Regions from separate parts of the Homo sapiens genome. Here regions 1, 2, 3 and 4 are each linked to region 5. The links are contacts of gene promoters, found by promoter capture Hi-C in blood cells and fetal thymus (Javierre and others, 2016). All regions are on one chromosome and are shown on one strand. The core of a region is centred on a gene start or on the middle of the fragment in contact, and the rest is flanking DNA. Distances in the headings are between cores, read along the strand shown.

Region 1 (2,700 bases), core at 100-2,599, 1.1 Mb before region 5:
ATAGTCTCCAGCTCCTAGAGTTGTGAGGATGAAATGCAACAGACAATGCATATAAATTATGAAGCATAAGTGGTGGTTCTTGCTGTTTTCTTGTGCTTGTTAAGAGTATTACTATGTGAGCCTGGCTTCTTTCCTTTCTCCCTCCCTTCCGTCCCCAAACTTACCGGTATTACACAGTTGATACAACAGTGTTCAAGATACTCCTCGTTTGAAGATAAGAGTCCTGCAACTGGGTACGAGTAAAGTGTCCTTTGGAAAACTGTGATGTACTCAACAAATGCATAAAGATGAGCATGTTTTAATTGTCCAGGCCCACACAATGTGGATGATTTTCATATTCTATCACTAGTATTTTCTGCTCTTCCATCCTGCAATGCCCTAACCTCCCAGGGTGCCCATGCCTAGAATATCCCTTTCCTTCACCCTGTATTTATTGAACTCAGTCCTCAAAGGCTGGCTGAGTGTCACCTACTGTGATCTTTGCTCACAATGAGAGCAGAAGAAATTGCTCCTGGAACTCCCTTTACCTAACACTGTAATATGTAATACTTTTTATGTTTTATGTAACCTTATTACATAAAATGATATGGTTTTGCTTTTTATACTCATCTCTCCTACTTGAATATAAGTTTCTGGAGGCTAAAGCTTGTCATATTTTTCCTAGTTCCTTCATAGAGCCTGGAAAGTATGCTGCTCATTAACAATTGTGCTGGGGTTGTTTGTTGTTGCTTGTAAATTTTTTGAAAGCGTAAAAGCATGCAGGAAAGTACTCAAATCAGGAGTGTACAACTTGATATTTTTGACATGAACATACCATGAAACCAGTCTTCAGATCAAGATTCAGAATATAAGGAGAAACCCAGAAGTCCATATTCAGTCTCTCCTCCCCCAAGGGTAACCACTACATCATAGATTAGTTATGCCCCTTATTAAATTTTCTACAAATGTCATCATATGGTACATATGCATTCATGGCTAACATCTTTCATTTCACATTATGTTTCAGAAGCATTCATGCTGTTGTATGTAGATGTGGTTCATTCACTACCATGACTATGTAGTATTTCACTGTGTGACTATGCCATTATTTATTTATCCATTCTGCTGCTGATAGACCTTGGGAAGTAACTGTTTTGTGAACTGAAATGAATACTAACATCTGGCTCTTAAGAAATATTTCCCAAGGAAAGGGTGACAGCACAGAAGGTTAGATTCACGAATGCTAGAGAAGTAGCCCTGATTTCTCACTTTTTCAAAGAGCATTGACAGATGGCTCCCCATATCAAGAGCCAGCACAATCTTTCAGAATCAGGACAGCCCATTTTCCCAGACCATGTGATATTTATTCTATTCTAGCCTGGCTGGTTGCTAAATTGGTAAAGATCAGAGAGCTTTTGGGCACAGTGGTGTTCTTAGAATTCTGTTTTGCTATTAAATATTGGCCTACAAATATATAGCTAAATGTGTTTTACTAATGATTGGGGTGGCATTAATTGTAATTACTTGTCAATCTAACTTGTTGCTGGTGTCTTAATTTCCAGCATATCTGAGAGGTTTTTAAAGGATTTCACTAGCAGTTTGGTAAGTCATTTGTCAATAAATGATGAAAAGGTTGGGCTATTTATATTTCAATGTTACCATTTTAATGGGCAACTGTCTATGTACTGTCCACCGCAGAAATGCTTTTTCCTCCCTTTTCTTGAGGAAAGTGTCTAAGGTGGAGGGAGGTCTGGTTGCTATGGATATCTGAAATTTTATGTTTACAATTTAAGAGGTAAGCTGAAACCTCACTATTTGGTCTCCACCTGAGTGGCATTCACATTTAGAAATTACAAGATTGTTATTGGCTATCTGGAGCTTGAGGATGTGGCTGAGTCCTGGCAGTTAATTAAAACTAGGCTGGTTTTCAATATCAGAATTATTCAGCCTGTTTTGGTAGGATGTCCGTAAAGTCCTCACTACCTTGCAATGTGTTTTTGATGTAAAAAAAATATTTAAAAAGGAAACATAACAGGGTAGCTTGTCCTCATTTACTGGAGAGGTTGGTTGCTCCATAAGCTTTTCAGAGTGGGATTCTGCCCCCATTGTTTCTTGTCTGTTAGCTCTGTAGGTTCTAGGCTACAGTATTTCAGTGTTCACAGGACAGCTAATTGGAGAACAAAGCCCTGGCATTTTCCTGGAAGGAAGATTGCTTCATGTGATGCTTATTGGGAAGATCGTAGAAAAACTGGTTAATTCAGAGTATTGCTGCATTAAATGTCAGGTGAAATATTTTCTAATTATTCTTTTATTATCAGTTTAATCTTTTAAATATGTTTTTAAGTATAGAAGTAACTCATGAATACTTTTTTTTTTTTTGGAGACAGAGTCTCACTTTGTAGCCCAGGCTGGAGTGCAGTGGCGCAATCTCGGCTCACTGCAACTTCCATTCCACCTCCCAGTTCAAGCAATTCTGGTGTCTCAGCCGCCTGAGTAGCTGGAATTACAGGTTTGCACCACCACACCCAGCTAACTTTTGCATTTTTTGTAGAGATGGGGTTTCGCCATGTTGGCCAGGCTGGTCTCAAACTCCTGGCCTCAAGTGATCCACCCACTCGGCCTCTCAAAGTGCTGGGATTACAGGCGTGAGCCACTGCGCCCGGCCTATGACTACATTTTTAACTTAAAAGAATCTAATAATACTGATAAAGAGAAAATTCC
Region 2 (2,700 bases), core at 85-2,584, 1.1 Mb before region 5:
GGAATTTTGATCATTGCTCAGTTCAGCCTGGGGGAATCTCCTTTCAAGGAATGAGAAATGCTTGGGAGAAGTCATTGGAGGAAGCTGCAATTGGGGTTTGACCTGAATAAATTGAAATAGAACATGGGAGATATTACCTAGTGAGCCTAGTAGAAATTAGCAAGCTGAAGATAAGAGTTAGCAGTATATATATTCACATATATATGGCTGTATACTCAAAATTGTTGCAAAGTGTGAACATCAGACTTAATCAAATGACATGCTGATATGCCTCCTTATAAAAAAGGGTTGGCATTAAAATTCAGAATTTTCAAAATACAAAAATTAGAAGGTGATTACTCACGTTTTTAAAAGAACTCTTTGCCTTAAAAAGAATCTACCACATTATTCCATTCAAATTACCCCTTATAGAAACGACTTCCTGTTCAATAAATAGTTCTGGGACAACTGGCTTATCATATGCAGAAGACTGAAAATGGACTCCTATGTTACACCATACACAAGAATCAACTCAACATGGATTAAAGACTTAAATGTAAATTACAAAACTATAAAAGCCCTGAAAGTTAACCTAGGCAATACCATTCAGGACAAAGAAACTGGCAAAGATTTCATTTTCATACCAAAAACAATTGCAAAAAAGCAAAAATTGACAAATTGGATTAAACTTAAGAGTTTCTGCACAGCAAAAGAAACCATCCACAGAGTAAACAGAAAACCTACAGAATGAGAGAAAATATTTGCAAACTATTCATCATCTGACAAAGGTCTAATATCCAGTATCTATAAAAAAACTTTAACAAATTTACAACAACAACAACAACACCCCATTAAAAAGTAGGCAAAGGACATGAATAGACACTTTTCAAAAGAAGACATACATGTGGCCAATAAGCATATGAAGAAAAGCTCAACATCACTGATCATGAGAGAAATGCAAATCAAAACCACCATGAGATAGCATCTCACACCAATCAGAATGTCTATTATTAAAAGGTCAAAAACTAACAGATGCTGGCAAGGTTGCGGATAAAAGAGAATGCTTACACACTGTTGGTGGGAGTGTAAATTAGTTCAACTGTTGTGGAAAGCAGTGTGGCAATTCCTGAAATAGCGAAAAACAGAACTACCATTCAATCCCCTTACTGATATATCTGATGTAATAAATCATTCTCCCATAAAGGCATATGCATGTGTATGTTCATTGCAGCACTATTCACAATTGCAAATATATGGAATCAACCTCAATGCCCATCAGTGGCAAAGTGAATAAAGAAAATGCGGTGCATATATACCATGGAATACTATGCAGCCATAAAAAGAATGAGATTATGTCCTTTGCAGGAACATGGATGAAGCTGGAGGCCATTATCCTTAACAAAAATGCAGGAACAGAAAGGCAAATACCACATGTTCTCACTTTAAGTGGGACTTAAATGATGAGAACACATGGACACATAGAGGGGAACAACAGATACTGGGGCCTCCTTGACGGTGGAGGGTGAGAGGAGGAGGAAGGGAGAGGATCAGAAAAAGTAACTATTGGGTACTAGGCTTGGTACCTGAGTGAGAAAGTAATCTGTTCAACAAACCCCTGTGACACAAATTTACCCATATAAAAAACCTTCAGATGCACCACTGTACCTAAAATAAAAGTTTAAAAAATAAATAAAATTAAATTAATGAGATGCTCTTTAAAGTATGTTAAAATTGCCATTTGGTTAATTTCAGAGGTTCTCACACTTCAGTGTGCATCGCAGTCACCAGAAAGGTATGTTAATAAAAATTAGGTTGCTCAGCCCCCACCCTCAGAATTTCTGATTCAGAAGGTTTGGGATGGATCCCTAAAATCTGCATTTCGAACAGGTTCTCTGGTCTGGGCACCAGTTTGAAAACTGTTGGTTTATTAAAATTCTTCCTGAACGTAGTTTATTAGAAAAAAATCTATGATGTAACAGGAAGTAAACCTACAAGTGATTTTTAGTGGATGTGATGTGCTGAATTGTGTATCCCCCAAATTTCATATGCTGAAGTCCTCATCCCCAGTACCTCAGAATGTGACTGTGTTTAAAGATAGGGTCCTTAAAGAAGTAATTAAGTTAAAATGAGGTCATTAGAGTGGGCCTTCATCCAACATATGACTAGTGTCCTTATAGGAAGGGGAAATTAGGACCCAGGCACACACAGAGGAAAGCCCATGTGAAAAAAACAGGGAGAAGGTGGTCATCTACAAGCCAAGGAAAGAGGACTCAGAAGAAACCAGCCTGCTGACACCTTCACTTGGATTTCTAGCCCCAAGACTACGAAGAAATATATTTCCGATGTTTGATCTCCCTAGTCTGTGGTCCTCTGTTATGGGTCTAGCAAGCTAATACAGATTGTGGGCTTCAAAATAAAATAGCTATTTAGAAAATGTATTCAACGGTTTTGCGTTTGGTCTAAGGGTAAAAATCAAAAGTGATAGTAAAGTAAGAGAAGCAAACAGAGTAAAATGCACTCTTAACCTCTGCTTCATGTCCACTTTTGCCTTTGTAGATGTCTCTGGGCATCTGGGCTTGGAGGAGATACCTGAATTTATGTTTAATCAGGGGACACTATTGGTGTCAGGTTGGTTCACAAATGTGGGAGAATAAGAGAGCTACATGGAAAGGAAGAGTCCATATGAACAGAATGAAGTGTGTGGCCTAGGGAGAGTTTTAA
Region 3 (2,700 bases), core at 33-2,532, 1.1 Mb before region 5:
ATCCTGGAATTTAAAATAAAATTAAAAATATATATGGAGAGAATGATATTTAAGACAAAAAGATGTTCTTTCTACCTATTTAGATTGTTTAATCTTCAATTAGCGTGTTTGGAAAAGCACATAAGCATGATGATATGAGGTGCTGAAGTAAACATGTAGATAAATATAACTAAACTCTAAAAATGCCACCTCCTCCACAAAAATCTTCATCAGCACCCTAGAAAGAGGTGTGATTCTTTTCACTTGCAATCCATTACATGTTCAAACATGTAAGCAATAGTCACCTAGGCTCTGAGCCTCATTCATTGAGTATGAGGGCACCATTTTAAAATAAATTTGGGTGGAACAGAGTCATAGTCCATACACTTACAGTTCATTCATTGATTAATTCATGCATTGAACAAATATCTAGTAAGTGCATACCCTGAGCCAAGTCCTATCTTAGATGCTAAGAACACTATAGTGAACAAGGTACAGTCCCTGCCCTGATAGAGCTTATATCTTGGTTGAATGACAGGGGAAGAAATGCAATAAATTGAAGACAAGTAGATACAGATGGTGGTGTGTGCTATAGAGAAGAAAAGGAGTGGAGTAAAAGAGACAGACAGCTGGTTGGGAGGAGAGTGCTCTCTGGCATAGGATGGATACAAAGGCCTCCCTGGTCTGCTGATGTTAGGACAGAAGCATGGAGAACACAAGGAAGACAGTTCTGGATTACTGGAGGGAATGGATCCAAACAGAAGTGATGCAAAAGCCCTGGTACAGGTAGAAATTTTAGTATTTTTAAGGGCCAGCTCAAGTTAACTAGCTTCTCTGAGTTGCAATTTCCTCTGTTGTAAAAATGGGGATAATAATAGTACTATGAAGGACAGTTTGTGAAGATTTAATAAAATAGTGTGTGCAAAATACCTAGCGCAGTGAGTGTTCTGTGAAAATCTTAGGTGCATTTCTTCTGTAAATATCTACTCACGTCAGTGTTTCTGTAAATATGAACTCATGTTGGTGTGTGTGTTAGTATGTGTCATTATGGTCTCTCTTCTTTGACAGCAATGTGCCTTTTGAACAGTAAGCCCAAGGTAATTACCAGATTGTGTTCCAGAAAACACTAAGGCAGCCCCTGCCTGTGTTAAACATTTCATGAACCACTTTATGAAGCTTGTTTCCACCTCCACTTACCTTTCTTGAGTCCTGCCACCATTGGTCTACCCAGAGCCCCCTGCTGCTGAGGCCTTCTCCTAGAAATGGAAGGTTTTTGGGTGGGAGATGCCCAGGATAGCTCAGGACCAGCTCTCCTCCATGTGTGTTACTCACTCCACCCATGGGAAATGCATGCACCCATAGTGAGGGGTGGGGCAGATTTCTTTCCATCCCTCCTCTAAACCCTGATATCTCTCCAGTTCCCTCTTTTCCAAGCTTAGACAGGCAAAGGAGCTAAGGCAGCTGAAATGCTCTGCATAAAATAATGGGAGAAATTTAGGATCAGAGTGGGTGTTTGCCCTTGAGAGGAATAGCTGAGAGAAAAGAGGTGAAAAACACCTTTTCAAGCATCACGGTTATGTGGCTGAGAAGCTTTCAAGAACAGAAAAGGCCACTAAGTATTTTTAAGGAGTTTGCCCTGTTGCACTGTAAATTCTCTCCATCTTTTCAAACTTTTAATAAAGTCTGTCAAAAACCAGGTCTTTGTATGTGGCTTTTTTTTTTTTTTTTTTTTGGTAGCAACCAAGGAAAGGGGCTAAGTTCTATTTTGTGGTAAACAGAGCTGAAATCAATGCAAAGCCCCATGACCAACAGTGGGCGAGTAAGAATTTAGCAGAGGAAGGAAGCAGGAACCAGCCATCACCATCCCTCCATCTCCTAGAGTTCCTCAGAAGTGTTTCGAGGGCGTTGGATGTTTCAAGGCAGTAGTATACCTATCTTAATGAGCAGGATGGCCTTAGCTGACATGTGCATGTATGTGAGACTTGCTTTGGGCAGCACCCCAGACAAAGATAGGCACTGAATTCTCTGGATAACAACATGAAAGTGAGGTTGAAGCTGCAGATCTGGGAGGGACTCTAGGCCTGCCTGAAAGTGTGTACAATAGACAGGGGTTGTCCACATTTGTCAGTTTCCTCGAGTAGACCCATGCTTGTATCTATCATCAGTATGGACTCAAGCTGCATTATTGAGGTCCCAAGAACACATCCAGTAGTGGGCACAGTGGGAGTGGCTTTGTTAACCTCAATGGTTTACTAGTTGGTTCTTGAGTTGACACCTTTGATTCCTTAGAACAGAAAGGAAATAAGTCAGAGGAACTTGTCTTGGGCTGCTTCCAGGGCTGTACATAGGTAGAAATAATATCAAAGCTAACATTTATTGAGTACTTAGTCTACATAAAGGATTATGTGGGAACTTTATATGTACTCACTCACCTAGTTCCCCCAACAACTCTTTGAGATAAGTACTTCCTAATATTCTTCCAAAACAAGTGGGCATACTTTGACCCAGCTACAGGTTTTGCAAAACTGGAGCACGTGGAATGAATAGGAGTGCTGAGGGGAAATTTTGTGAGAAGTAGGAGTTGGTGAAGCAACCAATTCAGCAATTCTTTAATAGCAGATAGGCAGTTAGCTTTATCCAGATACCCAGTGTCTTTGTCAGGTTTATAGGATGATGTTGTAATTTCATTTACATTTGTCTGAGGTTTCCTTTGAGACCATA
Region 4 (2,700 bases), core at 190-2,689, 1.1 Mb before region 5:
AAATTAGCCCCTTGGATTGACAGGTAATTAACTTCTGCCACTAGTTTAATTTCTTGTGTGGACCTGGATAAGGGAAGCCATACATGGGTGGTAATTTTATTCCCTCCAATCTCAAAGGAAACGTAACTGGGTATGAAGTAGTGGCACAACTCATATATCAGTAGTCTGTAGCAGGTCTACATAAATCCTTTTCTTTAAAGTTATTTAACTGTTTTGAAAATGGTTTCAACAGAAGTAATTCCAACTGCACCAGAAAGGAAACCAGAGTTTTAAAGAAAAATATACTCTCTTTGCTGAGCAAGGCAAACATATCAGTATGCAGAGAAACAAACCAGTCTCTTGTGTTTTATTTCCTTTGCAAATCCACCAAAACACTTACTTTATGTCTTTAAAAGGCTGATAGACAAAGAATTCTGTGACCACTAAAAATTAATACCTACAACTGGTTTGTAGACACTTTAAAAGGGCAGGTACTATTTTTTAAATTTCTCTGTTTTTCACAGTTTCTCATTATGGGACTTTGTACATACTATAAACACAATACATATTTGTTGTGAGTGTTTTTTTAGACCGATCAAAAACATATTCTCTGGGGAAGCATTTTCCATTCAAGGAATTAGATAACCTGCTATTTCCTCACATGCTTCTATGCATAAACCTAGACATTGTATCACAAACCTAGTCCTTTTTATAGCCAAGCCCTTCACAGAATAATATTTTTCCAATAAGCTCGTAGTGGCATTTTTGGTCATGGTGTTTCTTTTTTGACTCTTCTGAGAATTAATGTTTAAAATAAACACCCTTATAGCTGTGAAAGATGAGAACTTGTTACTATTTAAGCTGACTAATTCAAAGTCATTTGGTAAAACTACTTTCAGTTTTAAGAACTAGAAGATTTAAGTGCTCAAACTAGATGGCTCTAATAAATGCACAATTATTATCTATAGTCAGTATAACTAATTATCAGTGAATCCAGACCTTGATCCATTACTCCCCTCACGTCCATGGATTGAGAAGCAAGAATCTATTTGTTATTAGTCTTATTTCCTCCAAGGTCTTCACACAACTCACTCCCTTAACTCCATTAAGTTTTTGCTCACATGTCACCTCATTGTGGCCTTGGTGGACCTTTTCACTCTGTTTTAAATTGAGACTCTCCCACTCTTGACCAGAATGCCTAATCTCTCTTTCCTATTTTGTATTTTCCCCCATAGCATTTGTCTGACACAGTATATATTTTGTTTTTTTATTTGTTTTTGGTTTCTCTCCACTGGAATGGAAGCTCCATGAGCACAGAGATTATTTTGTCTGTCTTGTTCCCTGGTGTGTGCCCAGCACCTGGCACATAGTAAGTGCTCAGTCAATATTTGTTAGACTCTAAGGCAATGTTTGTTTTGAAGATTTATGCTTAAGTATGTTCCCAATGACCTTGATGGTTTAAAAAGCAATTTTGTATTGGTTATTTTACTTAGTTATTCTTACAACAACGTGTTTTAAGGAAGGATTATTATCCCACTCCAGCAGATGAGAAATGGGGGCTCAGAGAGTTCCTATGAATTGGATAAAACCCAGGGGCCAGCAAGTGGTGGACTCCAGCCTGGAACAAGATCAAATACTTCCTTTAGGGTGCTGCTCTCACCTAAGCTGTGAATCTTTCTGGCTGGGGGAATTAACACTTCATATTAAGCATTGCCGGCCAGGTCTCAAAGCAGTGGATTCCAGAATGAAAATTAGAACAGAATGTGGTTGTAGAATACCTGATAAATAAAATAATCCATTATGTACAGCTCTCAAGGGTGAGAAGCATACCTTCTCAGCTACAACTTGTATTTGTTCACCTCCTGAGTGTGGAAGAACAATCCATGTTGAGGCCATGCAAGTCCACCTCAAAAAGTCCCTGCAAAGCCTCCTTACCTTGCAATAGAACATTGCAGCTGCTTGTATTTCAGTCCTTTCTCCATGGCATTTCTATTTCACATCATGCTGTGGTTCAGGAGGCAGTTTGCATAGTGGTTAAAGATCACAGACCCCAAAACAGGCAGAGCCAGACAGAACTTGAAGCGGGATGTGGTTGCAGTTCCTTCGGGGGAAATTATTCTGTCTTCTCATCTGTAAAACTGGGCTAATGGTACTAAGTTCTGATAAATAAATTAGATTATACAAGTGATGCACTCATCACTGCCTTAAGTGTTAGTGAATATCTCCTGTATCCCTTCTACTAAATTGTAAGATTGTAGAAGGAAATGCACTTACTGGCTTTATTAGTTTTCAAGTTTTGCTATAACAAAATACCACAAACTGGCTGTTTAAACAACAGAAATGTAATGCCTCACAGTTCTGGAGGCTAGGATCTGAGATCAAGAAGTCTGTGGGCTTGGTTCCTTCTGAGGACTGTGAGGAAGAATCTGTTCTCCTAACTTCCGGTGGTTTTCTGGCACTCTTTGGTGTTCCTTGGCTTGTAAAAGCATCAGGCCGATCTTTGCCTTCATCTCCACATGGTGTTCTTCCTATGTTTGTGTGTCTGCATCCAATTTCCCCTTTTTATAATGGCACCAGTCATGTTGGATTAGGTGCCCTACTCCATTATAACCTCATTTGAACTAATTATATCTGCAGTGACCCTATTTTCAAATAAGGCCACATTCTGAGGTACTGGGGTTTATTACTTCAACATATGAATTTTGGGGACACAGTTCAACC
Region 5 (2,700 bases), core at 53-2,552:
ACCGCCCAAGCTCACTAACCCTCTTAAACTCTCTAAGTAAGTTTCAAAGCGGACGAAAAAGGAGGACGGAAAGACAAATTGTGGGCGCCTATGGAGACAGAAAAAAAAATCTATCCTACAACGTGACCCCTCAGCAACCCTCCTCCACCTTTAAATGGCTTTTTGTTTTTGGAAATGCCTGGATAAACCGCAAAACTCTCGGCGCGCTCTTCTCTGGCTGGCTACAACTCCTTAACCCCCCCACCCCCACCCAGCGTGCTCAGGGCACCCGCACCGTGCTAGCTTGTGGCGGCTCTCAAACTAATCCTGACTGAGTTTTTGAGGCAGCCTTCTATTCCCACTCGCACCAACCCAGCACGCTTACCAAAATTCCCAAGTAACCTTCTCTTTGTTACGCAAACGCCAGGAGCTGCTTGATTCTTTCTTCTCTCCACCCCTATCCCCTTTCCAGCCTAGCCGGCTTCCTGGCCGGGCAAGCTGGGAATTCAGCGACTGAAGGGCCTTGGAAGGTGCCGGAGGGGAGAGACGCTAGTTCGAACCTCCACAGGGCTCTCCTACTAAAAATCCCTAAAATGCTGGCCCGAGAAACTCTCTTTGTTGGAGGGTCTGAGTCCTACTCCCTTCTGCCGCGTGCGCCCCCACTGCCGTGAACCGCTGTGACCCCCAATCTACCACCCCATCTCGCGCCCCCAGCGTCCTAGTCGCCCTGTATCTGCCCAGCCTTCCCCCTGTCCATGTACCTGGCTGGTTGGTGGCGCTTGGGACGCGGTTGTAGGCGCCGCCGTACTGGTGGTAGGAGCTAGCGTAGCTATAGTCGGCATAAGCTTTGGCTGGGTAGCTCCCGGCGGAGCCGTTCACGCCGTGATACTGATACTGGTAGGGGTTGAGAGCTTTGCCATAGGAAGCCGAGGTAGGAGAGCAGTAGCCGTGCGGGGCTCCCCCCGTAGGGCTGTAGTAGTCAGAATCGGTAGCTGAAGACTCGGGCAAAGTTGGCGATTCCTGAGACGGATGGTGCATAGCTGCGGACGTCTGGAACGGAGCTTGGAAGTCGCCGGATCGGATGCTGGGGACCCTTCTGTCAAACACTCCTGTCATCGCTCACGGGCGGCGGCAGCGGCTGTCCTTGCTGTTGTGGCGGCGGCAGCTGCCCTAGTTGGCTGTGGGGCTGCTCTGGTCTAAGCAGACATGGCTGTGGGAGCGAGGGAGGAGGAGGAAGAGGAGGAGGAGAGAAGGAGGAGGCGGCGGCCGCGGCGAGGAGGAGACTGGGAGTCGTGAAGTCTCTGTCTCCGGCCGGCTGACTGCTGGCTGAGGCGCAGCACAGCCTTGGTTAAATCCTTAATTGCGCGCTTACGCACAGCGGGGTGGATCTGGTTCTATTGGCCAGGGCCTCGGGAGCAACAGTAACACCCTAACTCGTCCAACTAGTTTTAGCACAACAAAGCATTGCTTAAAAAGGGGGTGGGGGGTACTGAGGGGGTGTGTGTGTTTGTGTGTGTGCGCGCCCGCGCGCTTGTGTGTGTTTTTGCTTGTTGTGGAGTGGGGAGGGGTCTTAGTCTATCTGTTTTTAGTAAATTCCAAAGACATCGCAGAAGCCACAGCACAAGGCTCTGTGATGTCTGGGGACAATGTGTTCCAATCAGAAGCCTCAAAAGTGCACATGTTTTGGGAATGAGGTGGGCGACCATCTTTCCTTGCTTCCCACTACCCCGCCCCCGTGGGCTGCACCAAAGGCGAGTGTAGAATTAAACACTGATACTGAAATAGGGAGTCAAGGTGCAGGGAGTGGGGAGCGGGGGGATGTAGGATGGAGGCAAGAAGGAAGGGAAACAGCATTTTTTTTTTTTTTAGTGGAGTGTTGGGAAGCAAGTTGTAACTTACATGTTTTGAAAATTTGCTCTTTGGGGAAAGAGGCAACTTCCTTTGCAGGAGATGAGTATCTCCCGGACGCGGGCTGGACAGGAATGCCCAAGAAGGCACAATGTCCATTAAGCCGGTGAATGGCAGGGAGAGTTCCTGCAGCCCAAAGTCCTTATAATGACTTTTAAAAATTACTGTCTTAAACACATATAACTTAAGGAAGCCCAAATCCTCGTTGCTGGCTTGCAAAAAGAGCCAAACAGCTCCACTTCTGTTTAATATTTTCATCTATTTTCAAGACATTGGAATAAAGGCTCTTTAACTATGTTCAGTGGCCAAAGACTCCCGCAAAGGTGAATGGATCCATGTATAACCTGCCATACCTCCAGGAAAGAATGGGAAAGTCTCGGAAGTGGGGAAGGAGACAAGGATCAAAGCCTTTGCAAAGTCAGATGATGCTCATTGATTTCCCCCTCCTGGCTCCATGAATGTGGCCCAGTCTCTCCATTTCCCAGACCCGGGTTTCTGTACCCTCTCCCCTTTATTTCCTGCTGCAAAGACATCCTACTTAGCTCGTATGCAAGGGAAGAAAGGATTCAAGAATCATTCAGTTGATACACGAGATCTAAACTTTGCTCTTCAGGAGGTGCTATCCTTGTTCTAGTCGTGATTCAGCTGGGAGTTTAGAAATTCAGCATAAAAGTCTCTCCCAATCCCCATTGTTACTCCCCTCAAATAGGCAACTCCGCGGACTAGATCCTGATTTGGGGCCTTCCTACATCTTCCTTTACGGGGTCCAAGACCGGCAATCTGGGAGTTCCACAGGCTATCTAGGGTTATCTG

What was found. Contacts are between HindIII fragments. The CHiCAGO score rates a contact against its expected background, and 5 or more counts as called.
Region 1: a contact is called between a fragment that was not itself captured here and the fragment with the promoter of DLX5 in region 5, in 10 of 17 cell types (endothelial precursors, activated CD4 T cells, total B cells and 7 more). The highest score is 12.3, in endothelial precursors.
Region 2: a contact is called between a fragment that was not itself captured here and the fragment with the promoter of DLX5 in region 5, in 1 of 17 cell types (activated CD4 T cells). The highest score is 6.4, in activated CD4 T cells.
Region 3: a fragment that was not itself captured here is called in contact with the fragment with the promoter of DLX5 in region 5 in 1 of 17 cell types (total CD4 T cells); the score reaches 6.4 in total CD4 T cells.
Region 4: a fragment that was not itself captured here is called in contact with the fragment with the promoter of DLX5 in region 5 in 1 of 17 cell types (neutrophils); the score reaches 6.4 in neutrophils.

The regions. Positions count from the first base shown.
Region 1 is chr7:95,928,805-95,931,504 of GRCh38, forward strand. The region is part of intron 6 of DYNC1I1 (dynein cytoplasmic 1 intermediate chain 1); the gene reads left to right. Among named protein-coding and RNA genes, the nearest start is that of DYNC1I1, 160 kb to the left of the region's middle. The HindIII fragment of the contact is 1,413 bases long and covers 644-2,056 here.
Region 2 is chr7:95,888,937-95,891,636 of GRCh38, forward strand. The region is part of intron 6 of DYNC1I1 (dynein cytoplasmic 1 intermediate chain 1); the gene reads left to right. Among named protein-coding and RNA genes, the nearest start is that of DYNC1I1, 120 kb to the left of the region's middle. The HindIII fragment of the contact is 5,609 bases long and covers 1-2,700 here.
Region 3 is chr7:95,946,290-95,948,989 of GRCh38, forward strand. The region is part of intron 6 of DYNC1I1 (dynein cytoplasmic 1 intermediate chain 1); the gene reads left to right. Among named protein-coding and RNA genes, the nearest start is that of DYNC1I1, 180 kb to the left of the region's middle. The HindIII fragment of the contact is 258 bases long and covers 1,154-1,411 here.
Region 4 is chr7:95,972,974-95,975,673 of GRCh38, forward strand. The region is part of intron 6 of DYNC1I1 (dynein cytoplasmic 1 intermediate chain 1); the gene reads left to right. Among named protein-coding and RNA genes, the nearest start is that of DYNC1I1, 200 kb to the left of the region's middle. The HindIII fragment of the contact is 5,585 bases long and covers 1-2,700 here.
Region 5 is chr7:97,023,529-97,026,228 of GRCh38, forward strand. DLX5 (distal-less homeobox 5) reads right to left here and starts at 1,303. Exons shown (of 3, transcript NM_005221.6): 1 at 741-1,303. The coding sequence starts at 1,095. RefSeq lists enhancers at 809-1,525, 2,452-2,700. The HindIII fragment of the contact is 4,218 bases long and covers 823-2,700 here.